Linked DNA regions of Homo sapiens: all the other regions are linked to region 4. The links are contacts of gene promoters, found by promoter capture Hi-C in blood cells and fetal thymus (Javierre and others, 2016). All regions are on one chromosome and are shown on one strand. Each heading gives the region's core, a stretch centred on a gene start or on the middle of the fragment in contact. The rest is flanking DNA. Distances are from core to core; before and after follow the strand shown. Region 1 overlaps NUP98 (nucleoporin 98 and 96 precursor). Region 2 holds the start of CHRNA10 (cholinergic receptor nicotinic alpha 10 subunit). Region 3 overlaps NUP98 (nucleoporin 98 and 96 precursor). Region 4 holds the start of RRM1 (ribonucleotide reductase catalytic subunit M1). Region 5 overlaps NUP98 (nucleoporin 98 and 96 precursor). Region 6 overlaps NUP98 (nucleoporin 98 and 96 precursor). Region 7 overlaps NUP98 (nucleoporin 98 and 96 precursor).

Region 1 (3,639 bases), core at 566-3,065, 400 kb after region 4:
CACATCCAGCCTCCGTCTGGTACTATTTATGGTCTTTGTGCATTTGTACAGTGAGAATTTATCTTTGGGATTGATCTTGTATGAACTTATTATGAATCATTAAAAAAAGGTTATGCTCACCAGGACACCAACATGTAGTAGGAGAGGATCTTAAGGCATGCCAGAGTCAGATTCTTAGGGCTGTTGATTCATAAACTCCACTTTCTTCCTGTTTATTTTGACTGTAAGGCTAAACCTCTGGTAAAGGTACTGCCTTTTAGGTTACTAAAAGCTTTTGCTTTACTACTCCCCCCCTTTTTTTTTGTTTTTTGTTTTGTTTTTGTTTTTGTTTTCGAGACAGTCTCGCTCTGTACCCCAGGATGGAGTGCAGTGGCATAATCTTGGCTCACTACAACGTTTGCCTCCTGGGTTCAAGCGATTCTCCTGCCTCAGCCTCCTGAGTAGCTGGGATTACAGGTAACGTGCCACCACACTCGGCTAACTTTTGTATATTTAGTAGAGATGCCGTTTCGTCATGTTGGCCAGGCTGGTCTCGAACTCCTGACCTCAGGTGATCCGCCTGCCTCAGCCTTCCAAAGTGCTGGGATTACAGGCGTGAACCACTGCCTCCGGCCTTTTTTTTTCCCTCCCCCCTGCACCAAGACAGAGTCTTGGTCTGTCACCCAGGCTGGAGTGCAGTAGTGCAATCTCTGTTTACTGCAACTTCTGCCTTCTGGGTTCAAGTGGTTCTCGTGTCTCAGCCTCTTGAGTAGCTGGGACTCCAGTCACGTGCCACCACGCCAGGCTAATTTTTGTATTTTTAGTAGAGACAAAGTTTCATCATGTTGGCGAGGTTGGTCTCGAACTCCTGACCCCAAGTGATTTGCCCGCCTTGGCTTCCCAGAGCACTGGGATTACAGGTGTGAGCCACCGTGCCCAGTGTTTTCCTCCATTTTTCCTTTTTATGTTTAAGATAGAGTCTCGCTCTTGTTGCCCAGGCTGGAGTGCAATGGTGCGATCTTGGCTCACTGCAACCTCCAACTCATGGGTTCAAGTGATTTTCCTGCCTTAGCCTTCCAAGTAGCTGGAATTACAGGTGTGCACCAGCACGCCCGGTGATTTTTGTATTTTTAGTAGGGACGGGGTTTCACCATGTTGGTCAGGCTGGTCTCGAACTCGTGACTTCAAGTAATCCACCTCCCTTGGCCTGCCAGAGTGCTGGGATTACAGGCATTAGCCACCATGCCGGGCTGTTTTCCTCCATTTTGTAGCTGAGGTGTCTTGCCTAGTATCACAGAAGTAGTGGTAGATCTGTTGTTGATGTCTATATGCTATTCAGTCTATAGGTAATTTAGGTTAAACTACTTTGCAAATTTTCTATCCAAGCAGAAAATGGTAAGTTTTTGATCAATATTTTGGCACTACTGCAGAAAGCAGTTAACAATGTTAAATCCTCCCTTCTGAAGGCTGGAAGAAATGAAGATAATGCCCCCAAGTGTTTGACGAAGTCCATAAACCCTTAGTAATAACCAAAAAACTTCCATTTCTCTTATAGGGGATCATCGTCTTGCTCTTCTTTTATCTCAGTTTGTGGGTAGCCAGTCAGTCCGGGAGCTGCTCACCATGCAGTTGGTGGACTGGCATCAGCTCCAAGCAGACTCCTTCATCCAGGATGAGAGACTGCGCATCTTTGCTCTGTTGGCTGGAAAACCGGTATCTTCTACTTTTACCATAATATCTCACATTGGTTTTTTCATAAATTGAAGCTGGTTTGAGGTTGAGGCAAGGAGTGATCTTTGTAAATTGTGCACAGTTACACAAAATGTTTTACACATTGGACAATTTTCAAATTATAAAGGCAGGCATGCACACTTTTAAAAATCTAGTTGTATAGAAATTAAAATGTTAAAATGTATCATATCCCATATCATATAGTGGTAAACAATATAAATAATTTTATCTTCACAGAAATATTCTAGTTTAGTTAATTAATTTTTTTGAGATAGGGTCTGGCTCTGTTGCCTAGGCAGGAGTACAGTGGGGTGATCTTGGCTCACTGCATCCTCCATCTCCTAAGTTCAAGTGATCCTCTCACCTGAGCCTCCCAAGTAGCTGGGACTACAGGCACACGCTACCATACACAGCTAGTTTTTAAGTCTACATCCACATATATGTTGTTCCTATTTACATGTTTGTATATACAAATGAAATAAATTATACATAGGAGTTCTGTGATTTTTTTTATTTATATTTTGTTCATTTAAAAAAGAATTTATAGCAATAGGGTCTCAGTATGTTGCCTAGGCTTGTCTTGAACTCCTGGCCTAAAGGGATCCTGTCACCTATAGGTCTCCCAAAGTGTTGAGATTACAGGCATGAGCCACTGCATCAGCCCTGCAGCATTTTTTTTTTTTTTTCTCTTGAGACAGAGTCTCGCTCTGTTGCCCAGGTTGGAGTGCAGTGGCACGATCTGGGCTTACTGCAAGCTCCGCCTCCCAAGTTCACCTCATTCTTCTGCCTCAGCCTCCTGAGTAGCTGAGACTACAGGCACCTGCCACCACGCTGGGCTAATTTTTTGTATTTTAAGTAGAGACAGGGTTTCACCATGTTAGCCAGGATGGTCTCGGTCTCCTGACCTCATGATCTGCCTGCCTCAGCCTCCTGAAGTGCTGGGATTACAAGCGTGAGCCACCGCGCCCGGCCCCCTGCAGCTTTTTTTTTTTTAAACCTACTGTATGTGAATATTTTTTCATGTCATGAAGCGTTATTTTTGTTGTTGTTGTTGTTTTTTGAGATAGAGTTTCGCTCTTATTGTCCAGGCTGGAGTGAGTGGCACAATCTTGGCTCACTGCAACCTCTGTGTCCCAGGATCAGGCGATTCTCCTGCCTCAGCCTCCCAAGTAGCTGGGATTACAGGCGCCTGCCACCACGCCTGGCTAATTTTTGTATTTTTAGTAGAGACGGGTTTCCCCATGTTGGCCAGGCCAGTCCCAAACTCCCGACCTCAGGTGATCCACCCACCTCGGCCTCCCAAAGTGCTGGTATTACAGGCATGATCCACTGCACCCGGCCTTTTTTTTTTTTTGTATTTTTAATAGAAACGGGGTTTCACCATGTTGGCCAGGCTGGTCTGGAACTCCTGACCTCAGGTAATCCGACCACCTCGGCCTCCCAAAGTGCTGGGATTACAGGTGTGAGCCACAGTGCCTGGCTGGCATTATTCTTTTTTATAGCCACTTATGTTCCATTTTATGGCTGTTGGGTTATAATTATTTTAAGCCATTTCTCTTATCACTGCCTACCTCTTATATTATTATCTTAAAGTATTTTCAGAAATAAAAATGTAGCTGGTCAGCACTTATGCTCATTTTAAAGCTTTATACATTGACAACCATAGACAGTGAGAAGATCTCTCTGCTCTCAATGGCTCTCATCTCATTTGAGTACTGATTGATTGATTAAATCCTGGGACCAGGCACAGTGTCTGATTCCTGTAATCACAATGCTTTGGGAGGCTGAGGAGGGAGGATTGCTTGACACCAGGAATTCAAGACCAGCCTGGGCCACACAGTGCAACTCTGTATCAATCGATCAATCAGTTGGTCAATAAAAACAAGTAAATAATATTCCCTCTCACTAGCTGTGAGATTTTATTATATT
Region 2 (3,692 bases), core at 1,005-3,504, 420 kb after region 4:
ATCTCCTGACCTCGTGATAAGCCTGCCTTGGCCTCCCAAAGTGCTGGGATTACAGACGTGAGCCACCGCGCCAGGCCTGAACAATCTCTTCCACATCCCAAAATCCCGTTGAAATAGTAAAAAATGTTTTAATTTCAAAAAAAATTCTCAAAAACATAAAACAGGAACCAGTTACCTCAACATTCGATAGATCTGTGGAATCTACAACATTCAAATAACTTATTTTCTCAACAGAACCCAAAGTTAACAGAGGTCTGGAGAATTAAATATTGGAATAATTAAGCAAAGGCCTGCAGAGTATCTGCTCTTTTTAGATGTTTCATCTTTAGCTCAGTTTTGTTAATTTGTATTTCCAGAAAATTGTTCCAGATTTTTTGTTATTCAAATAACCAGTCCTTAGACGTATTAATCAATTTTACTGGAGTTCTGTATAATCTTAATTTCTGCTTTAAATGTTCATTTCTTAGGCTTTCCTAAGGATTTGTTAAACCTTGTATTGGTTGGGCACGATGGCTCACGCCTGTAATCCCAGCACCTCGGGAGGCTGAGGAGGGAGAATCCCTTGAGCCCAGGAGTTTAAGACCAGCCTAGGCAACATAGGGAGACCTTGTCTCTTAAAAAATGAACAAAAATTAGCTGGGTGGTGTGCACCTTTAGTTCCAGCTATTCAGGAGGCTGAGGTGGCAGGATGGCTGTAGGGTATTTTGGTAGTTGTTCTTTAACAAGTTAAGGACAGTTCCCCTCTACTAGCTTGAATAAGTGAATGTTGGATTTCAATTTGAAATGATGTGAAACGCTTGTGTGTTAGGAAGGTGGTTGGAGATAAGCAGAGTACCTGGGAGAGGGGACGGGTGGAGAAAGTGCAGGGAATCACTGGCATATCCACGATGCCCAAAGTCATGGCTATGGATGTGATTGCCAGGGAAGTATGTGCTGCTGTTGGTCAGGCAACTGGTCAGCTTGAACAAAAATAATCAAAACTCTGTGCATGATAAATACCTGTGACCTGAGGATAGCCTGGCTACCTTACTGGGACCACAGTGTAAATATTGTTGATGACCTGCTGTACCTTAGGCACCGTGCTAGACAGTGCCTTGCACTATCAGGTTATCTCATTTAAATCCTTGCAGTTTTCAAGATGAGTACTGTTAATCCCATTACCAGATTGAGAGAACAGAAACCCAGAGAGTTTAAATATCTTACCCAAGTGAGAGCGCTCATAAGACAGGGCCGAAAGTGACTGAATGCTTGCCCTCTTCTCCCACACTGCCCACAGTGTTTGGGCAAGGTGAAAAAACAGGCTCAGATGGGAATGACTGCAGGGAGTCTGAGGAGAGGATGTGGGCTCCATCTTCTGCTCCACTGGGTCATCTGGAGTGGCCTGAGGCTCAGCACTACTCCCACCAGGAGGGAAGGGCTTGCTTGACCCAAAGTGCCTAGCCTGGAGTGTCTAGTCCCGCACTGCAAGGAGAGCTGCAGGTCTAAGGCAAACCTCCACCTCCAGAATTCAGGCAATGGTGGCTAAGATGAGAGGACAGTTATCCATCCACTGACCCTGGCCCCTCACACTCTTAAGCCCTGGTCTTCCACATACCCTGACCCAGCATACCTGTACTCTCCAACACCCGAGGATGGGCCTGAGCTGAGTCTGTGTGCTGCTTTACAGAGTTTGAATAATTCAAGCCCCAGAGGCCCGAGGTATCAGTTTCCGTTGCTCTGTTGTCATAGGCACGGTGTAATTAAGCTAATGAAAGGGCAGAGAGGGAGGGGCTGTGGTCCTGTGCCTCGGACGACTCTGGGCTGATCAAGGGAGGAGTCCCTGGTCCCTGTTCTGCTGAGAGAGCAGCAGGCCCATCTAGAGTCCAGGTGTGGGGAATGGAAGAAGGAAGGAATGAGGGATGAAACAGAAGTAGGAGAAAGGGAGAGAGAGTGGAAAGAGGCAGGCAGGGGATGATCAGAGTCAGGGAGGCAGAGAGACCAAGAAAGTTACAGACGGAAAGAGAAGGAAGCAGAAACAGAGTGAAAGACAAAGCAGGTGGGGAGCATAGGAAAGGGCAGAGGCAGAGGCCAGAAGAGGCAAGGACCAGCAGAGAAGAAGAAAGACCAAGTACTAAAATCCAGGGGCAGGCACAAATTGGAGGGTCAGAAGACTGGAGGGGCTGCAGGGCTCGCTGGAGGGTGGCTGGACCCACCAGAGATCTGTCTTACTTCTGACTTCTAGGTACTGTCCACACCATCCTTGCCAGCTGGGCCTAATTTTGCCCTAGGTCTGGCCAGGAGGCCTCACATCCAGAGACCTGCCCCCGCTCTTGCAGTGCCAGGGCCATGGGGCTCCGGAGCCACCACCTCAGCCTGGGCCTTCTGCTTCTGTTTCTACTCCCTGCAGGTATGAAGCTCAGTACACCAGCCCTGGCCTCTCCTGGTGGTGCTACTATTCCTGTTCTCCCAAAATCCCTTTCCATGTAGTCTCTCTTGTGTTTCTCCTCAGTACCTGTTCTGAGAACAAGCTCTCTATTTGGGGAGTGTGGAGGAGAGGGGTGCTGAAGTGCGTGAGAGGAGACTTGCCTGGCTAGGGTGGAAACAGTGAGCGGGGAGCTTCCAGAGACAGGGCTGGGAAAATCAGAGGGGCCAGATGTTGAAGGGCCTGCCGGCCAGGCCAGGTCTTTCTCCTGCAGATGACGGGGAGCACTGAAAGGTTTCAGCAGCATACTAGCCTGGTCAGATGTGCATGCTTAAAAGCGTGGTCCTGGGGCATGGGAGGGGTAGAAGAAGGTGAGCCTTTGGGGAAAGGGAGACAGTGAAGGGAGGGCCCTGACCTGGAGGGGAGAGGGTAGACTCAAGACGATGTTTCGCAAAATCTGGAGGATTTGAATGATCTGACAGGATCTGGAGATTAACTGGATTCCCCGAGGAGGAGGCAGCAGAGGGAGAAGGGAGGGATAATTCCCAGATTTCCAACTAAGGTCACTGTTGAAGCTGAGGGCATGCTATTTGCTGAGATAGGGAACATGGGATAGGAAGCAGGTTTCAGAGCATGGAGGGAGGAAGCGAGTTCATATTTTGGACCCTCAGAGTTGAAGGTGCCTGTGGGAAACTCAGGAGTGGACTGTACTCTATTGGGGTCTGGAGCTCAGGAGAAAAATCTGGGATGAAGAAAAAGATGGGAGCCAAGGACAGGATTCATGGGAACAATGTTTAGGTCAGGGATTGAGGAAAATTTGTGTCAGTAAAGCCTGGGGAAGTGTGTTTTCAGAGTGAGGGAGTGTTCCATCGCATCAGAAGTTTTGAAGAAACCAGCTCGAGATGGAGAAGTGGAAACAGGTTTGAGAGATACTGGAGGGGGCAGAGCAGTGGGGTTTAGAATCCCTGGGTGAAAGTCTGGACTCTTGTGGCTTATTTGGGCCCCTCTAGCATTTGTGGAGAGGCAGGCAGACTCCAGGTCCTTGAAAAGGGGAGGGTGGAGGAGAAATTTGTCAGCCTGGCGCCAGAAGATAGTACCAGTTCACTCCATGGCCTTTACCTCATGTGTCCCTGCAGGCAGGCCAGGGAGGAACTAGAGCCACAGCTAGAGCAAGAGAAGGCAGACACCAGGAGGACACTCATAAGGACAGGGCCCCAGCCCTGGGAGTGGAGGGTGTGAGCAGAGGCCCTGGGACTAGGGCCTGGGATGGACAACCCTCCTTACTGACCCT
Region 3 (3,482 bases), core at 353-2,852, 360 kb after region 4:
TCTGTCTCAAAAAAAAAATTGTTTTAATTTTATTTTTTTCTCATTTTTTATTGGTTTTAGTAGAAGGTGGTAGCATAAATTATTGTAATATGCCATTTTTACTTGTATAGCTTTTTGACTGGTTTTTAATAATCCATCTCTTTTTCCAAAGTTCCTGACACAAGAATTTAGTTAATATTAAATTTGTGTGCCTTAACATTACTGCCCATTTAAAGGTAATTGTATTTACTTTTAGAATGTACATCTTTATACCACGGAATCTTAGTTGAAGGTACTTTAGAACTATGTGAGTGTGCCTTGTCTTAAAAAAACCTCAGGTATGGTGGCTTCCTTACAGGCAGTACAGTCTGTTCTTCTGTTCTGGTTGTGTGGAAACCAAATCCTTCCTCCATAGAGTTTCCACCCAGTGGTTCTACTTTTATTTCCTAAAGCTAAGCAAAACCAGTCTAGTATGTATGGTTTCTTTTCTTTCTTTCCTTTTTTTTTTTTTTTTTTTTTTGAGAGGAGTCTTACTCTGTCACCCAGGCTGGAGTGCTGTGGCACCATCTTGGCTCACTGCAGCCTCTGCCTCTGGGTTCAGACAATTCTCCTGTCTCAGCCTCCTGCGTAGCTGGGACTACAGGTATGTGTCACCATGCCCGGCTAATTCTTGTATTTTTTAGTAGAGATAGAGGTTCACCATTTTGGCCAGGCTATTCTTGAAGTCCTGACCTGAAGTAATCTGCTTGCTCAGCTTCCCAAAGTGCTGGGATTACTGGCATGAGCCACCATGCCTTGCTGTAGTATATTTGTGGTAACCCACTGACTTTCTTCTGGATAAAGTATCATCAGATTCTTGTGTTTCATCAGAAGACTTGGTTTTTGTACTTTTCCCTATCCCTTTAATCATTTGGTTATGATTTAGTTTTTTGGAATCTTTTATTTTGAAATTTCTTTGGAATTTGTTCTTTGGAAAGTTTTCAAATTATTTTGACCAAGATTGAATGTAATACCAGTAGTTGCTTAACTAGTGCTTGTTTGTTTTCTTGTTTTTGCTAATCTATCAAGATACTCTCTTACCTGTGTCTTTAAATACTACAGTTAACACAAAGTTTATATTTATTCATACAGATATAAAATCATGCTCATGCACTTTCTTGTGTTTGGATTTGTGAAAGGAAGTCTTTGGTTTTTTTTTTTTTTTTTTTTGAGAACGCCCAGGTAGAATGATTTGTACTTGTTAAACGATGGGATCAACTAAGACAGGTCAGTTTTCTAAATGAGTAATTGCCTGTCCAGTAACAAAATGACCAGTGAGGTTTGGAGTTCTCTAAAGTTTTTCTTGAGTCTCCTTGCATAGTCCCCAAAATAGCAGTATGCTGTTAATCTGTAGTACTGTGTACCAAAAAAAAAAAAACTTTTCTTTATTTTTTGCTCTTAAATTGGATTTAGGAACTTTCTGAATACAGATGATTTACTCTGTGCTCTTAAAATTGACATCTCTTGGTTTGAGATCCTGAGCAAACTTGTCCTGTCTAGTTAAATATCAACATGAATGTACGGTGTTTTAGTATTTATTGAATACATCGATTTTAAGAAACCTTTGACTCTTCTTTTTCATTAATTTAGCTATAGCAGCCTGTTCTGTTTTTGTTTGTTTGTTTGTTTTTGAGACGGAATCTCGCTCTGTCGCCTAGGCTAGAGTGAAGTGGCACGACCTTGGCTCACTGCCAGCTCTGTATCCTGGGTTCACGCCATTCTCCTGCCTCAGCCTCCGGAGTAGCTGGGACTACAGGTGCCCACCACCATGCCTGGCTAATTTTTTCTATTTTGTTAGTAGAGACAGGGTTTCACCATGTTAGCCAGGATAGTCTCGATCTCCTGACCTTGTGATCCGCCTGCCTCGGCCTCCCAAAGTGCTGGGATTACAGGCATGAGCCACCACGCCCAGCCTCTTTTTTTTTTTTTTTTTTTTGTTATTACTGCTTTTGTTCTCCACCCACTCCCCACAACATTGTGAGACTTTTCAGAAAGTTTTATGTCACTCCTTTACTGTGGATTATTGTATTATATTTTGGCAGTAACTTTATTTGTAAATGTTTATAAGGGAAAAAGGTAGTATTTTTGTCTGTAAAATGACTTTATTATGTTTTGGGTTTTGATCAGTATTTTTGGAAAGAGATTTTATCTTGCAAAGAGGTTTCTTCTTCAGTCAGGGTATACTGTAGTGGTTTTGCTTTTTTCTTAATGTTTTACTTGGTACAATGGTAGATCATGAATAGTCTTCATTGTTACTTATGTCTGTTCCCTAAATTCTCTGCAATTGATAACAGATGTTCTTACACTTTGAGAAAAAATTAGGCTTAGTGATTTCTTTTTTCTTTCAGTTTATATTATGTGAATGTTAAATAAATGTAAATAATAAACTTATAAGGATAGCCTAAGCATTTTCTTCAGGAAGACACCTGGATTTGGGGGAAAAGAAAAAACCACATTTTTGTTTGTATGCTGCCTTCCTCTGTAGCCTTAATGTACATAATATTTTTATTCTGGAAATTTTACTTAAAGATAATTTCATATTTCCACAATGAAACAAATTATTATTTTTAATAACTACATAACCTATGTTGATGTGTCATGATGTTTACAACTTTTTTGTTTGTTTGTTTGAGGCAGAGTCTCGCTCTTTCACCCAGGCTGGAGTGCAGTGGCGCGATCTCGGCTCACTGAAACCTCCACTTCCTGGGTTCCAGCTGGGGTTATAGGTGTGCGCCCCCACGCCCAGCTAATTTTTTGTATTTTTAGTAGAGGTGGGGTTTCACTGTATTGGCCAGGTTGGTCTCAAACTCCTCACCTCAAGTGATCTGCTCGCCACGACCTCCCAGTGCTGGGATTACAGGCATGAGCCACTGCACCCCGCCTACAACTATTAACTTAATATTGGACACGTAGGTTGTTTCCATATCTTGACTGTATATATACTATGCAGTGAATGCTTAGGAATTTATTTTCTTTCTAGTTCGAGTTAAATTTTCATGATTAAAATTATGAGGTTAAAAAATAGAGGCCAGGCATGGTGGCTGACTCCTGTAATCCTGGCATTTTGGGAGGCCAAGGTGGGCAGATAGTTCAATTTCAGGAGTTCAAGACCAGCCTGGGCAACATGGCGAAACCCCATCTCTGAAAAAAAAAACAAAACACACACACACACACACACACAAAATTAGCTGTTGTTGGTGTGGTGACTCACCCCTGTAGTCCCAGCTACTTGGGAGTCTGAGGTTAGAGGATCACTTGAGCCTGGAGGCAGAGGTTGCAGCAAGCCAAGATCATGCCACTACACTCCAGCCTGGGTGTGTGTGTGTGTGTGTACACGCACAAACACACAGTACTTGTCCTGTTGTATATTGTCATATTATTTCCTTTGGACAATTACATACACGCACGCACACACACACACACAGTATTTGCCCTGTATACTGTCATATTATTTCCTTTAGACA
Region 4 (3,595 bases), core at 965-3,464:
ATGCCCTGCCACGCCAGGCCAAGGTAGCACTTTTTAAACGAAAGTATTTAGAAGTAGACTCTAAAAGTTCAAAATTCAACACAGGGTTGAATTTTACCCATTCTGGTCATCTAAGTCCATACATTTTCAATTCATCTTTGTTACTGACTTATCATAGACCATCCTAAACATCTCTCCCATATCTAAAGATTTAAAAAATAGATGCTCAAGCCAGGTGCGGTGGCTCCCAGCACTGTAATCCAAGCACTTTGGGAGGCTGAAGTGGGAAGAATGCTTGAGCCCAGGAGTTCAAGACAAGCCTGGGCAACATAGCGAGACTCCTTCTCTAAAAAAATACAAATAAATAATAATGTAAAAAAATAAAAATACAAAAATAGATGCTCAGCTCTCACTCTTATGAATGGATCAATAAAAGTGCACTATGTTATTTTGCTCTTTGGTCAGCTAAAATGTGAGCTAGGAAAATTCACAGAATGATGTTCTCAAGATACCAAAAACAAGAAAGGCCACTACTGTCCACCTTTCCAACTCTTGTCTGTAGTTAAACCAATCTGGACATTGGCTGTAGTTAAACCAAATCAACTACCTGCTTATTCACAGCATTCATCGTGTCCTACATTTTGATACAACTATTTTCATTCATTCTTTAAGAATCTGTTCATGTCAGGTCCTGTGCTAAACGTGAACAGAAAAGTCTCCATCTTGCTTGTATTCCCAGCACTTTGGGAAGCCAAGGAAGGGAGGATGGTTTGAGGCCAGGAATTCAAGGCCAGACTGGGAAACACAGCAAGACTCCTTTACTACCAGAAATTTTTAAAAATTAGCCACTCATGGTGGTGCATGCCTATAGTCCCAGCTACTTGAGAGGCTGAGGCAAGAGCATCGCTTGAGCCCAGGACTTCAAGGTTACAGTAAGCTATGATTACACCACTGCATTCCATCCTGGGTGACAGAGCAAGACTCTGTCTCAAACAAGTCTCCATCTTTGAAATGTTCACAGCCTAGAGGACAAAATAGAAACAACCAGTCGATTAACCAGTATTTACTAAGTGCCTACAATTTTGAAATCATTGTATTGCTTTAACAAAGGCAAGTAGGTTCAACTCAAAACTTGTTCATACGTATCTCATGCGGTTGTTAAAAGTATGTTGCTCTTGTTTTTCCAACCCGATGAAGCCTGTTCCCAAGGCAGGGACTGTCTCCTCCTACAATCTCACAAAGCCAAGCAAAGGGCTGGGCACAAAGCGGGCACTTGGCAAGTCTAATGAAAAAGAACTGTTGAGAAAGAATACGAGTTCCTGACTCTTCCCAGTCCCCATCTTGTCAGAAGATGTCTCAGCCACCCTTCTCTGATTCAGCATCTCTTCCCATGAAGGGAAAGGAACTCGAGGGTGCTGTCTGTCTGGGATCTGTTTTTTCCACGCCACACTCCTATCCTCACCCCACAAAAGAGATCAGTAAACTGACAAGTGCCTACGGAGGGTAGAGAGGCCCCCTCCTTCTTTCCTAGCTGCCCCCCGACCCTGTGCCTAAGACAGCTCACCAACCCCACGGTTTTCAAATCAAACCGTATTGTCACCTATGGGTGACTTTGGGTCAGTCGGCGACACCTCGCTCTGAGCGTCAGTTTCCTCATCTGTAATAAGCTAATCATCTCTCAGAGGCTTGCAGGGAGGAATAAAATAGTGCCTGGCAAGTGCTCGGCGTACGCAGTCACTACTCGATACGGGGTAAGTGTTATCCTTTTGAAAGGCGGCAGGATGACAAAGCCGAGGGGGCGCAGCCTGAAGGCCCGAAGGAGGTTCGGGGCAGGCTGACTGAAGACAGAAGGCCGAGCGGGCTGACAGGGCGGAAGGCCGCGGCGGGAAATGCGGGAAAGGCGGGAAGCAGCGAAGGCGGGCGGGCGGTCTGGGCATCAGCTCCGGCGGCGGCAGCCCGCATCCCCTCACCTTCCTTCTCGCCCACCTCGTCCCCCCCTCACCTCGCTTGATCACATGCATCGCAGCTAGTGGCTGAGGCTCTGAAGGATCCAAGACTGGACTGCGGCTCTAAAGCGCCGGCGGGATCGAGAAGGTGACAGAGTGGGAAGGGTTAGGTTCCAGGCGCTGCTCAGGGGAAAGAACTGGAGTTGGAGCCAGACAGCACTTTCTTCAGAGCAGAGGCGCAACAATCCAAATCCCCTTCCCGCGCCCGCCACCCGTGACGCACAAAGGGGCGCGACGGGGTTCGAATGACGTTACTCGACGCTGCGGCCCACGCCCGGGGTAGGCTTCACAGACTGACAGGCGACGTGTAGCCGCCATGTTGAGTCTGGGCAAGACCCAGAAGACTACGCCTCTCCCATGGGCCCCATTGGATATGGACATGCCCGGCGGAAATGCTGCTCTCCTGCTACCATGTTTTGTGTGGGCAAGCCGAGTTCGGGACCCTCGGGGCCCTGGCGTAGCACCTAGAGCCCGCTGGGTCAGGCGCCGCCCTCTCACCTGCGCGTCTCCGCCGGAGGAAAGGCGGTTAATTTATTTTTGAAATAACAAAACCTAACCGGCGGGAACGTTTTTCTTGCTCTGACATTTATTATAATAATACTAACACTGCCGTCCGCTGTGGGCTCCAGCCCAGGCTCCACAGCCGTGGGCAGCTTGGAGCCCCAGGGCTTTTAGATCGGCCAGAGGACTGACACTCTGGAACTGGAAGAAAACCGCGCAAGGCCGATGGCGTTTGGATTTTATCCTGACGCAAATCAGAGCCCTGAGAGAATTTTAAGCAGGGCAGGGTCAGTACCCATTTGCTTTTAGGGTTCTTCAGTGGATGGTGGCAGAGACAGGGTATTTGCCTTGTGGAGGTAGGATGGACTTGGTGACTTAGAGTGGAGAATAAGAATAGATGAGAACCGTAATATGTAAGGCTGGTGTAGAAGCTTCTGATTTGGGCTACCCAAAGCGATCTTTATGAAATTTCATCTGTGGCATCTTTTCCCTAAAGCCTTTTCGTTGGTTTCTCACTGCCCTCCAGAAGCTGCCCAGGCTCCCTGTGAAGTAATTTCAAAAATCATGGAAAGTCGTAAGTGAGCCTGTAATTGCAGCATTTTGGGAGGCTAAGGCGGGAGCATCATGTGAGGCCAGGTGTTGAGATAAGCCTGGGCAACATAGTGAGACCCCATTTCTACAAAAAATAGAAAAAGTAGGCCAGCGCGGTGCTTCACTCCTGTAATCCCAGCACTATGGGAGGCCAAGGCGGGCAGATCACGAGGTCAGGAGTTCGAGACCAGCCTAACCAACGTGGTGAAACCCCCCCGCTGCTAAAAATACAAAAAGTAGCCAGGCATGGTAGCACGCGCCTGTAATCCCAGCTACTCAGGAGGCTGAGGCAGAAGAATCGCTTGAACGCTGGAGGCAGAGGTTGCAGTGAGCCAAGATCGCGCCATTGCACCCTAGCCTAGGCAAGAGAGTGAGACGCCGTCTCAAAAAAAACAAAAAAAAAGAAAGAAAAATTAAATAGATATGTTTTTTAAAAGTCGTAAGTGAAGTTATAGGATAGATAGGGTCAAGTTTACCCAGACATAGGGTTTCCCAATTTAGCAAATAAAAATGTGTCC
Region 5 (3,671 bases), core at 998-3,497, 330 kb after region 4:
CTGATGGGTCTGGGATTTCTTTGGGGGGTGTAAGAATTTAGATAGTAGGGATGGTTGCAGAACATCACGGAATAGTCCACTGTAAATGAGTGAATTTTATGATGTTTGAATTGTGTCTCAATAAAACTTTAAAAAGTGAATTCCCTATTCAGCAAGTCTATTAGCACAATATTTTTCCTTTATTAATGCATAAGTAAAATACATTGTTAAACATAGGATGATGCAGACTGCTCATTGGAAATGAGTATAGTTTCTCATTTAGAATTAAGGCTTTTGGCTGGGTGCAGTGGCTCACGCCAGCATTTTGGGAGGCTGAGGCAGGTGGATCCCCTGAGGTCAGGAGTTCGTGACCAGCCTGGGCACATTGTGAAACCCCATCTCTACTAAAAATGCAAAAATTAGCCAGGCCTGGTGGCGTGCCCTTGTAGTCCCAGCTACTTGGGAGGCTGAGGCGAGAGAATCACTTGAACAGAGGCTGCAGTGAGCCGAGATTGTGCCACTGTACTTCAGCCTGGGCAACAGAACGAAACTCCGTATCAAAAAAAGGAATTAAGGCTCTTTAACATAACACTCGTACCTCGGTCCGTGTTGATTTATTTTCGCTGATTATTTTTGGTTACTTGATTCTAAGTTCACTCCCCAGCTTGATACTGATTAGTTCTTTTCACCTAAATCGTTGAAAATGAAGGACCTAGACATACTATTTTGCTTCTCAGTGTTGCAACCCTGACATCTCTTAGAGCACAAGAGTTAAAGTCTTATTATTTAATAGACGCCTAAGACCTTGGAGTTCATCATCCTGGGAAGAACAGGGGCTTAAATATAGGTTTGAACTTCTGTTCCTACCATTCAGGAGCTGTGGCACCTTGGGCAAGTTTTAAAATGCTCTGAGCTTTTTGAAAAATATACTCCCTGCTTTTCAGGGTTGTTTTGAAGGAAATAATCTATATAAGTTATTTAGCCTAATATCTGTCATATAAGCTTGAAAAAATGGTAACTTTTTTTTTATTACTCTGAGATTCGTTACGGAAACTATTACAGGATATCTTTTAATCTATATAAACTTCTTTGCAGGGATTATTTGGAGTAACCCAAGCCTCACAGCCTGGAGGTCTTTTTGGGACAGCTACAAACACCAGCACTGGGACAGCATTTGGAACAGGAACAGGTCTCTTTGGGCAGACCAATACTGGATTTGGTGCTGTTGGTTCGGTAGGTTTCTGCAGTTGACTGTAATTTGAAGATGTGTGTAAATTTGTTAAAAGGAATTTTCTTCTAAGGATTTGACTGTTTTGCAGGTATTTTTATTGGGTGTATTATTGCACCAGCCTAATATGATTTGATTCTGAGAACAAAAAATTATTTGATATAAAATGAAATTTCAGGTTAACTTCAGGTTTGTTTTCAATTAGTAAATTCTTTCCCTTTTAAAATTTCTTTGCCTCAGTGCTTATGTGCATCATACTTCTGATAGCATTGGTTAAATTGTTGAGTCTAAATTGAAATTCTTTTGCTTTATTTGAATCAGATAATTTTTAACTCCTAGTTCTTCCCTCTTTTGTAGGTGATAAATTGGTATGATGTTTGGGAATGAAATGTTTTTGGGGTTGATCAAATTGTTGAAATTGTTGAGGTACTCATGGAAGAAACTTTGAACTTGCTATTGTGAGTAGGTTAAAAAAATTAAAAAAGAGCCAGGCGCGGTGGCTCACGCCTGTAATCCCAGCACTCTGGGAGGCCGAGGTGGGTGGATCACCTGAGGTCAGGAATTCGAGACCAATCTGGCCAACATGGTGAAACCCCGTCTCTCCTAAAAATACAAAAAAAAAAAAAACCACTAGCTGGGTGTGGTGGTGGGTGCCTGTAATACCAGCTACTTGAGATGCTGAGGCAAGAGAATCACTTGAACCCAGGAAGTGGAGGTTGCAGTGACCCGAGATCGCGCTATTGCACTCTAGCCTGGGCAACAAGAGCAAAACTCTGTCTTAAAAAATAAAAAAGGAACACAAAGTCCCTAAAACATATGGTCCTGTTTTCATGGAGATTGAAATTTCTCTTTTCTTTTTTTAAACTTTGGACAGATAATTGAGGTAAGAAATTGAGAAAATTATATAATGCTTCAAGACATTCTAGTACTTCTGTTGTTGTTGTTGTTGTTGTTGTTGTTTTTGAAACCGAGTCTCGTTCTGTTGTCCAGGCTGTACTGCAGTGGCATGATCTCGGCTCACTGCAACCTCTCCCTCCCAGGCTCAAGCGATTCTCGTGCCTCAGCCTCCCAAGTAGCTGGGATTACAGGCGTGTGACACCATGCCAGGCTTTTGTTTTGTTTTTTGTTTTGTTTTGTTTTGTTTTTTTGAGACGGAGTCTCGCCTGTTGCCCAGGCTGGAGTACAGTGGCGTGCGATCTCGGCTCACTGCAACCTCTGCCTCCCGGGTTCAAGCAGTTCTCTGCCTCAGCCTCCCGAGTAGCTGGGATTACAGGCGCCCGCCACTGCGCCCAGCTGATTTTTGTATTTTTAGTAGAGAATGGGGTTTCACCATGGTGGCCAGGCTGGTCTCGAACTCCTGACCTCGTGATCCACCTGCCTTGGACTCCGAAAGTGCTGGGATTACAGACGTGAGCCACCACTCCTGGCCTTAATTTTTGTATTTTTTAGTAGAGGTGGGATTTTGCCACGTTGGCTAGGCTGGTAACTCCTGGCCTCAAGGATCCTTCCGCCTTGGCCTTTCAGAATGCTGGGATTACAGGCGTGAGCTACTGTGCCCGGCTTCTAGTACTTTCTAGTGACAGATTTATTGATGTATAGTCCACATGCCATACAATTTGTCTCTTTAAAGTGTATAGCTAGGTGATTTTTAGTATATCAACAAAGTGTGCAACTATCACCATATTTAATTTTAGAACATACTCATTATGCCAAAAAGAAATGCCATAGTCATTGGCAGTCACTCCTGATTTTCCTGTAATCATCTTAAGCCTACTTTCTCTCTATGGATTTGACCATTTTGAACACTTCATGTAAATGGAATCATAATATGTGGTCTTTTGTGATTGATGTCTTTCACTTAGCATAGCATTTTCAAGGAACATCCATGTAGCATGTTCAAAGTTTTTCTTGTAGTGATTTCTTCTGGCAAAGCAAGTATTTGCTACATTTCTCTTAACAGGTAAAAAGATATTTGATGGCCTTGTTATTTTTTTCTTTGCCTCACTGAAATCTGGTTTCATTGGATTCATTGTGTTTCAGTCGTAATCCTTAGGGGTTACCATTAACTTTTCAGGCCAGAAGCATTCCGTGTTTATAAAGTTAATCTTGCCCAGATTATTTTTTGATAGCCTTTATTCATCTTTTTTCTACCTTTTTTATGAATGTTAGGACATCTTTCTCCCACCCCATACCCAACCCAGTATACCTGAGGTAACCTGTATTTAGTTTGGTGTGTGTCTTAATATTATTTTAAATTTTCCTGTATTCTATTCTTTTTAGACCCTGTTTGGCAATAACAAGCTTACTACATTTGGAAGCAGCACAACCAGTGCACCTTCATTTGGTACAACCAGTGGCGGGCTCTTTGGTAACAAACCAACCCTGACTTTAGGAACCAATACAAACACTTCTAATTTTGGTACATATAAAAAGCAGGTTTGGCTCTCTTAAAGTTACACTGACT
Region 6 (3,513 bases), core at 502-3,001, 380 kb after region 4:
GCATCTACCTATTACATCCTAGTAGTCACTGTGTTTAGATGTAAGGCATACAAAATGAATAGGATACAACACTTGAACTCTGGTATTAATATTAGAAGTGGTACACCACCACTCTTGTAGTCATCTTCATACCGATATTCCTGATACTTCATTTTCTAAGCATTTGTTTTTAGTAAATGGGTAGTAGCTGTTTTTTATTATTATTTAGTACGGTAGCCCTTTAAGACCTGCATAAGACTTGGTTCGTACCACTGGACTGTAACTTAAATAAGTTAGTGATTCCTAGCTTAAGTGTGAAAATGAGATTGGAAATAATTGATGTACCATGGTAATTTAAATAAATGCAGTCTGACTCTAGAACCAGATATTGAGTTGTCAATGTAGGAGTGACTCCTTGCTCTTAAGCTTATGGGGCAAAACTCAAGTTTATGACACATGCAGAATAATTCCAAGGCAGCATAGTTACCATTATTCACTATTTATGTGTTAGGTGGCTTTCTGGTCTTATATATGAAGCGCTTTTACTTTAATTGGTTACTTTAATTGGTTATGTTTTACAGGAAGGCTGAAGTTACATTGGATGGAGTTTGGCCAACAGATAAAACATCTCGTTGTTTAATAAAGAGCCCAGATCGCCTTGCTGATATCAACTATGAAGGAAGATTGGAAGCAGTTTCAAGGAAACAGGGAGCTCAATTCAAAGAATACCGGCCTGAAACTGGTTCTTGGGTGTTTAAGGTATAGTCATTTAACCCAGTTCAGACTTTTATAAACTATATTTGGAGTCACATAACGTTTATGTTGGAAGGGATCCTTTGCTAAATTCTATTGATTGATTGATGGGGTTCTTGCTCTGTTGCTCAGGCTGGAGTACAATGGTGGGATCATAGCTCCCTGCAGCCTCAAATTCCTGGGCTCAAGCAATCCTTCTGCCTCCGCCTCCCAAGTAGCTGGGATTATAGGCATGCACTACCATGCCTGGCTACTTTTTAAAATGTTTGTAAAGATCGAGTTTCTCAGTGTTGACCAGGCTGGTCTCCAACTCCTGGGATCAAGCAGTCTTCCCTCCTTGGCCTCCCAAAAGTACTGTGATTACAGGTGTAAGCCACTATACCCAGCCAAATTCTCTTTATTTTTAGAAATTTGGAGAGAGATGTACAGATACATTATGATTCACTCCAAACTACAAACCTAGTTAAAATTCAGCAGTAATGAGTTCTTACAAACTGTGGGCTCGTGATTCAAGTCCTCTACCCAACTCCTATGAGGATTTATAAATACATTTCTAAGGTGTAGTTTTTCTAATGTTTGTCATCATTAGGGACTTCAGTAATTCATCAGGCAGGTGTCTATTGGATCAACTCTTCCTATGTAATTGTCATTCTTACTTTTAAAGATTTTTGGAGATGAAGAGGTTGACTGTCCGTAATAGTTTAATCCAATGATTTCCTCCCATTCTAGGCTGGTTGAATTATTTAACTTGTTAAAGGCCCTTGGGTAGATAGAGGATAACAGGCAATATATGTCTGTGAAAATAATAACAAGTCTTTGGATTAAGTTTCCTATATTAATGATTACAGTTTAAATGACATTTTAATGTATATTATGTAATCTTTATTAATTTACTAGTATGAGCAACTAGAGCATACATCAAACGTCTTCTAAATCTTAGATAAAAGTGTGATAGGTGATATATTTTGCTTTAAATACTTAGATATTTCTCCCCTTTTCTTTCTTTTTTCTTAAGGTAATGCTGCAAGATTGCAAAGGCAGGTATTGGGAAAGCATAATGTTTAAGTTGTTTTGTGGGGTTCTTCTCTTCCTTAGGTCTCCCATTTTTCTAAGTATGGCCTTCAGGATTCTGATGAAGAGGAGGAGGAGCATCCGTCTAAAACTAGTACAAAGAAGTTGAAGACTGCTCCTTTGCCTCCTGCAAGCCAGACTACGCCCTTGCAGATGGCTCTTAATGGCAAACCTGCACCTCCACCTCAGGTAGAGAAAAAAGGACAGTGAATTTGAATGGAATCCGTGATACCGAAGTTGAAAGCAAGTCATTCAGCTAATACAAAGCTGTTTTATGACCCTTGGAACTTTGAAGAGTACAAACATTGGCAATCACGTTGAAACAAGTGCAAGGGAGGGCGTGAGGTCTTGCAGGCATCTGTCTTTTTACTGGAGAGATTTAAAGAATTCTCTTGCTGTTTGGATTATTCCTCTACAGATTGTCATTTTTAAACCCTTTGTTCTCTCTCATTTGGACTTGCTGAATTCTCTGCTCAGTGATTAACTTAAGATTTGCTCATGTGGGTTCATGCACAGTAAATTCTGCCTTTATTGACTACCTGATGTGCAGTTTAATCTTTTTCTTTACCTCCATGGTTTTTTAAAAGTTAAATTAGCTTTCTGAAAGGGTTTTTAATCTCCATTTTTTTAAAGTTGTTTGCTTATACTTCGGGTAACCTTGATATTTGTATTTTAATAGTACATAATCTTTATGAAAAATAGTTTGGGAATGTAAATGAATTATTATTTGGCTTGGGGAGATTAGGGCCTACATTGTTTATCGCAATTACTTGTATCATTGATACGGGATTTCTTTGTAAAGCATCCTCTACCTCTCAGCTGCTGAAAGCTAGACCTTTGGTATTTTCCATGCTATAATTCTTATGGCTGCTGAAATGTGTGGTTTTTATGATTTATTAAATAATCTCTTAGGAGGCATTTCTGGAGAATGTGTGTATATACATGTTTGCGCGTACAGGGGAGGGGAGGGTATGATAAATGTGGGAAACTGGAAATATATTGACTTTTATGTTTATAATCTTGGTAGCATTTAGAATGCCCCTAAGAAATCTCCATTGACAAATGAAATGCTATAGACTTGGTTTTCCAGTTATCCATATTCATTTTGTCTGTCATATGCTTTGTATCATCTCCTTCTTTCCTAATTTTTTATAACCTTATATATATATTTATTATAAATATATGTATTTCTGAGGGAAAGAGTCAGATGGCCTTATTTTCTGTAACAAAAGTAATATGTAGGATCTTAAAGATAACCTCTTTCCAGTTGGCCCAGCTGAAAAAGAAAAGCTTCATTTATGGACAGACAGGAAAATGTTTGTAATGTTGACAGTAGTTTCTAGGTTCTTTAATTGCCAGAATAGAAATAGTAGAAAAATAACTATAAACTCCTATATTGACACTTGTGTTTGTGAGAGCTCTTTGAAAAATTGAGCACCCAAAAATTTCAGATCAAGGTTCTAGCAAAAAGAGGTAGTAAGGATTTAAAATGGGCAAGTAGCTTTTTTTTTCCTTGAGAAAGAGTTGTCGCCCAGGCTGTAGTGCACTGGTGCAGTCTCGGCTCTCTGTGGCCTCTGCCTCCCAGGTTCAAGCAGCCTCATTCCTCAGCCTCCCAAGCAGCTGGGACTACAGGGCATACCACCACACTCATCTAATTTTTTGTATTTTTAGTAGAGAGGGGATTTTGCCATGTTGGCCTCAACTCATGTT
Region 7 (3,700 bases), core at 700-3,199, 310 kb after region 4:
ATTCATTTATATTTTTTGAGACAGAGTCTCGCTGTGTTGCCCAGGCTGGAGTGCAGTGGCACGATCTCAGCTCACTGCAGGCTCCACCTCTGGGGTTCAAGCAATTCTCCTGTCTCAGCCTCCTGAGTAGCTGGGACGGCAGGCGCCTGCCACCACACCTGGCTAATTTTTGTATTTTTAGTAGAGACGGGGGTTTCACCATGTTGGCCAGGCTGGTCTCGAACTCCTGGTCTCAGGTGATCTGCCCGCCTCTGCCTCCCAAAGTGTTGGAATTACAGGTGTGAGCCACCGCGCCCGGCCAAGGGTGTGCTTTAGAGTAACTTGAACTTTTTCTGAATGCAAATGTCTGTACCCCAGCCCTAGACATTTTTGTTCAATATTTCTAGAATGGAGCCTGGGGGTTTGTATTTTTGTTTGTTTGCTTGCTTGCTGGAGTGCAGTGGCACCATTGTACCTTGCTGCAGGCCTGAACTCCTGGGCTAAAGTGATTCTCTAGCTTCAACCTCACTAGTAGCTGGAGCTTCGTACAGGTGTGCACCATGTTTTTTGTTTTTTTTTGTTTTTTTTTTGTTTTTAATAGAGACAGAGTCTTGCTGTGTTGTCCAAGCTTGTCTGGCTTTAAGCAGATCATCCTGCCTCAGCTTCCCAAAGCATTGGGATCTACAGATGTGAGCCAGTGTAACCAGCCAGAGTTTGTATTTTGAAAAGCTTGCCACCTAATTCTGATGTGGCCCTCTAGAACCACTGGTTTTAGTGAGCTTTGTTTAATCAAAGGAGTTACTCAGTTTTTGGATATTGAGATAAAGAACTTAAGTATTTGATTTTTTTTCCTAGGAAATTTCAGGAGAGAGAATATTTCTGTAAAGCATTTATTTAAGGGACAGCCTTATCTTTTTCAGTGTTGCACAAAATGTTTGGTTATTAGAATGACTGGAAGTGTTAGTGGGATACTAGAATTTGGGGAAGACCTCAAAATGCAATATTTAATTCTATTATATGAACACGGCCTGAGTTTCCTAGAAGAAAAGACTACTCTTTACATACATTGTGTGGCTATAATAGAAAAATCATCATCTCTGTCACAGAATCCAGATGAGCATGATTGACTGTTTTCAGAGTTTTTATGCTGAAAGTAGTTTACTTATTAATTTATTGTCTGCTAGCAGAAAAGAGGTAGCAGGCATCTAAATTTAAGGAAAATTTGTGGAGGGGGAAAGCTCTGAGTAAACTATGAAGCTATTTTTTATTTTTATTTTATTTATTTTTTTTTAATTGATCATTCTTGGGTGTTTCACTATGAAGCTATTCTTATTCAGACAGGGGGAACCAAACTTTTCTGTGTAGGCGTTCTTGGAACAGTTTGGTTCAGTTCCTTAAATGACCGGGTGCATAGTTTGGATACAGGAGTAAAATAATTTATGTGAGGTGAGCGTTTTTGTTTTTGTTTTTGTTTTTGAGACAGAGTTTCATTCTTGTCACCCATGCTGGAGTACAATGGTGCGATCTCAGCTCACTGCAACCTCTGCCTCCCAGGTTCAAGCAGTTCTCCTGCCTCAGCCTCCCAAATAGCTGAGATTACAGGCATGCACCACCACGCCTGGCTAATTTTTGTATTTTTAGTAGAGACAGGGTTTCACCATGTTGACCAGGCTGGTCTTGAACTCCTGAGCTCAGGTGATCCACCCGCCTTGGCCTCCCAAAGTGCTGGGATTACAGGCGTGAGCCACCGCGCCCAGCCAAGGTGAGCAGTTTTTTTTATTTGTTTTTGAGACATTGTCTCACCCTATCACCTTTGCTGGAGGGAAGTGGCATGATAATGGCTCACAGCAACCTCCACCTTCTGGGCTCAAGCGCTCCTCCCACCTCAGCCAACAGAGTAGCTGGGACTACAGTCCCGTGTCACCACACCAGTCCAACTTTGATTTTTTGTAGACAGGGTTTCACCATGTTGCCCAGGCTGGTCTCGAACTCCTGGGCTCAAGCAATCAGCCCGCTTCAGCCTCCCAAGCTGTCAGGATTAGAGGTGTGAGCCCACTGTGCCTGGCCAGAGGTGAGGGATTTTCATCAAAGGTTTTTCTGTAATCTTAGAAGTAGAAGATAGATAAGTAGGGGACCATAGAGAATAGTCTTAAAACGTAATCTCAAAGAGAATGTCAGGGCACCAGAATCTCTGGGATTTAGAGATAGAAGGCGGGGCATGCATAATTTGAAAAACATTTACTATTACCATGTTTTATATCCCTCGAAGGTAGGGGAGAAAGAAACTTTATAATGCAAACTATGGAAAATAAAGCCTTGGCCGGGTGCGGTGGTTTGCGCCTGTAATCCCAGCACTTTGGTGGTGTAATCTCAGCACCCAGGTGGGTGGATCACTCGATCAGGAGTTTTTTTAAGACCAGCCTGGCCAACATGGTGAAACCCTGTCTCTCCTAAAAATACAAATAATTAGACAGGCATGGTGACACACGCTTGTAATCCCAGGTACTTTGAGACTGAGGCAGGAGAATAACTTGAACCAAGGAGGAGGAGGTTGCAGTGAGCCACTGCACGTCCTTCTGTCTCAAAAAAAAAAAAAAAAAAAAAATGTTAGCTTTTTAGGTGGTTGGGTTAGCAGACTGTGTTTTAATTTTTGATGGATATGATTCATAACCTCCTATGAGGATCATATAAACATCTTGCCTTGTAGACCTGAAATATTTATTGATTAAAAAGGGGACTTAGGTTAAAAAAAAAAAAAGATTGAAAACATTGTTTTAAATGGATGGTTAATGTTGGGATCTGAAGTTTAACCTCACATTATGAAGTTTAACCTTACTGTTCAGCTCAGGAACATTGTAGATTATAAAGATCATTTTACAAGGTTTATTTTATCATACAGTTTGAGGATTTTGAATGAGAGTATATACTATAGTTCGAATAGGCCTAAGTTTGTGGAATGATAGATTTTCTAAAACAATTATATTCCATTTTGTGGTCTTTAAGAGAGTGATAATGTTTTCTTTTTCCCAGCTTTCTGAAACAAAGACTCATTTTGAAGATGTTTAACAAATCATTTGGAACACCCTTTGGGGGTGGCACAGGTGGCTTTGGCACAACTTCAACATTTGGACAGAGTAAGTTTTTAAAAAGGACAAAAGAGGGAGAAACCTTAATCTCCCTTACTAAGAACAAATCCACTCTGATAAGCTTTAGGTGGGAATTTTATTTTTACTTTCATATTTATAACAAAGTCGTCTTGAAAAAATAATTAGGATAAGATCTCTTTAACAGTTTTTAAGAAAGTAGAAATAAATTCTAAGTTTTCATGGCCTTCTTCTGATTGTCAGTAGAAGATACTTAAAATATTTATATTATTTTGGTTGACAGAAAGTTATAATTTGTTACTAATTTTCAGACCAGAAAATAATTCTCTTAATGTTGAAGTCTAAAATGCAGTTATGAAATAACTGCCCTGGAATTTACCCTGTGAACATGATGTGACATTCATGTCACAGAAATGTTAAAATGTGGAAGTGTCTAATTCCCATCAACCCTCCGGAGATCTACCTCCCTTCCTACCCAGTATCGTGTATGACTAATTGCCTGAAGCAATCCTTATTTACATTTAAACTTTTTGTTAAAAATTTTTGTGGAGGGGTTTTTTTTTTTTTTTTTTTTTTTTTAAAACCAGAAAGTCCACCCCCTCTGCAAAAAAAAAATT

What was found. The method cuts DNA at HindIII sites, captures the fragments that hold promoters and counts their contacts. A CHiCAGO score of 5 or more calls a contact.
Region 1: a fragment that was not itself captured here is called in contact with the fragment with the promoter of RRM1 in region 4 in 10 of 17 cell types (non-activated CD4 T cells, total CD8 T cells, naive CD8 T cells and 7 more); the score reaches 12.0 in non-activated CD4 T cells.
Region 2: a contact is called between the fragment with the promoter of CHRNA10 here and the fragment with the promoter of RRM1 in region 4, in 2 of 17 cell types (neutrophils and total CD8 T cells). The highest score is 6.2, in neutrophils.
Region 3: a fragment that was not itself captured here is called in contact with the fragment with the promoter of RRM1 in region 4 in 13 of 17 cell types (total CD8 T cells, non-activated CD4 T cells, total B cells and 10 more); the score reaches 16.8 in total CD8 T cells.
Region 5: a contact is called between a fragment that was not itself captured here and the fragment with the promoter of RRM1 in region 4, in 14 of 17 cell types (total CD4 T cells, total CD8 T cells, naive CD4 T cells and 11 more). The highest score is 30.9, in total CD4 T cells.
Region 6: a contact is called between a fragment that was not itself captured here and the fragment with the promoter of RRM1 in region 4, in 13 of 17 cell types (total CD8 T cells, naive B cells, total B cells and 10 more). The highest score is 18.0, in total CD8 T cells.
Region 7: a fragment that was not itself captured here is called in contact with the fragment with the promoter of RRM1 in region 4 in 14 of 17 cell types (naive CD8 T cells, total CD8 T cells, naive CD4 T cells and 11 more); the score reaches 34.9 in naive CD8 T cells.

Annotation. Positions count from the first base shown.
Region 1 is chr11:3,693,502-3,697,140 of GRCh38, reverse strand. NUP98 (nucleoporin 98 and 96 precursor) reads left to right here. Exons shown (of 33, transcript NM_016320.5): 26 at 1,535-1,692. Among named protein-coding and RNA genes, the nearest start is that of CHRNA10, 24 kb to the right of the region's middle. RefSeq lists a silencer at 486-706. The HindIII fragment of the contact is 3,083 bases long and covers 274-3,356 here.
Region 2 is chr11:3,669,946-3,673,637 of GRCh38, reverse strand. CHRNA10 (cholinergic receptor nicotinic alpha 10 subunit) reads left to right here and starts at 2,254. Exons shown (of 5, transcript NM_020402.4): 1 at 2,254-2,386. The coding sequence starts at 2,326. The HindIII fragment of the contact is 7,798 bases long and covers 1-3,692 here.
Region 3 is chr11:3,735,794-3,739,275 of GRCh38, reverse strand. All of the region lies in intron 12 of NUP98 (nucleoporin 98 and 96 precursor), which reads left to right. Among named protein-coding and RNA genes, the nearest start is that of NUP98, 60 kb to the left of the region's middle. RefSeq lists a silencer at 3,210-3,410. The HindIII fragment of the contact is 4,702 bases long and covers 1-3,482 here.
Region 4 is chr11:4,093,418-4,097,012 of GRCh38, reverse strand. It overlaps RRM1 (ribonucleotide reductase catalytic subunit M1), which reads right to left and starts at 2,214. Exons shown (of 19, transcript NM_001033.5): 1 at 1,982-2,214. The coding sequence starts at 2,000. RefSeq lists enhancers at 1,985-2,454, 2,515-2,584. The HindIII fragment of the contact is 7,950 bases long and covers 1-2,919 here.
Region 5 is chr11:3,760,443-3,764,113 of GRCh38, reverse strand. NUP98 (nucleoporin 98 and 96 precursor) reads left to right here. Exons shown (of 33, transcript NM_016320.5): 9 at 1,075-1,212; 10 at 3,488-3,575. Among named protein-coding and RNA genes, the nearest start is that of NUP98, 35 kb to the left of the region's middle. The HindIII fragment of the contact is 2,527 bases long and covers 984-3,510 here.
Region 6 is chr11:3,711,043-3,714,555 of GRCh38, reverse strand. NUP98 (nucleoporin 98 and 96 precursor) reads left to right here. Exons shown (of 33, transcript NM_016320.5): 19 at 561-738; 20 at 1,828-1,992. Among named protein-coding and RNA genes, the nearest start is that of CHRNA10, 41 kb to the right of the region's middle. The HindIII fragment of the contact is 2,688 bases long and covers 408-3,095 here.
Region 7 is chr11:3,781,455-3,785,154 of GRCh38, reverse strand. It overlaps NUP98 (nucleoporin 98 and 96 precursor), which reads left to right. Exons shown (of 33, transcript NM_016320.5): 2 at 3,010-3,113. The coding sequence starts at 3,038. Among named protein-coding and RNA genes, the nearest start is that of NUP98, 14 kb to the left of the region's middle. The HindIII fragment of the contact is 2,478 bases long and covers 711-3,188 here.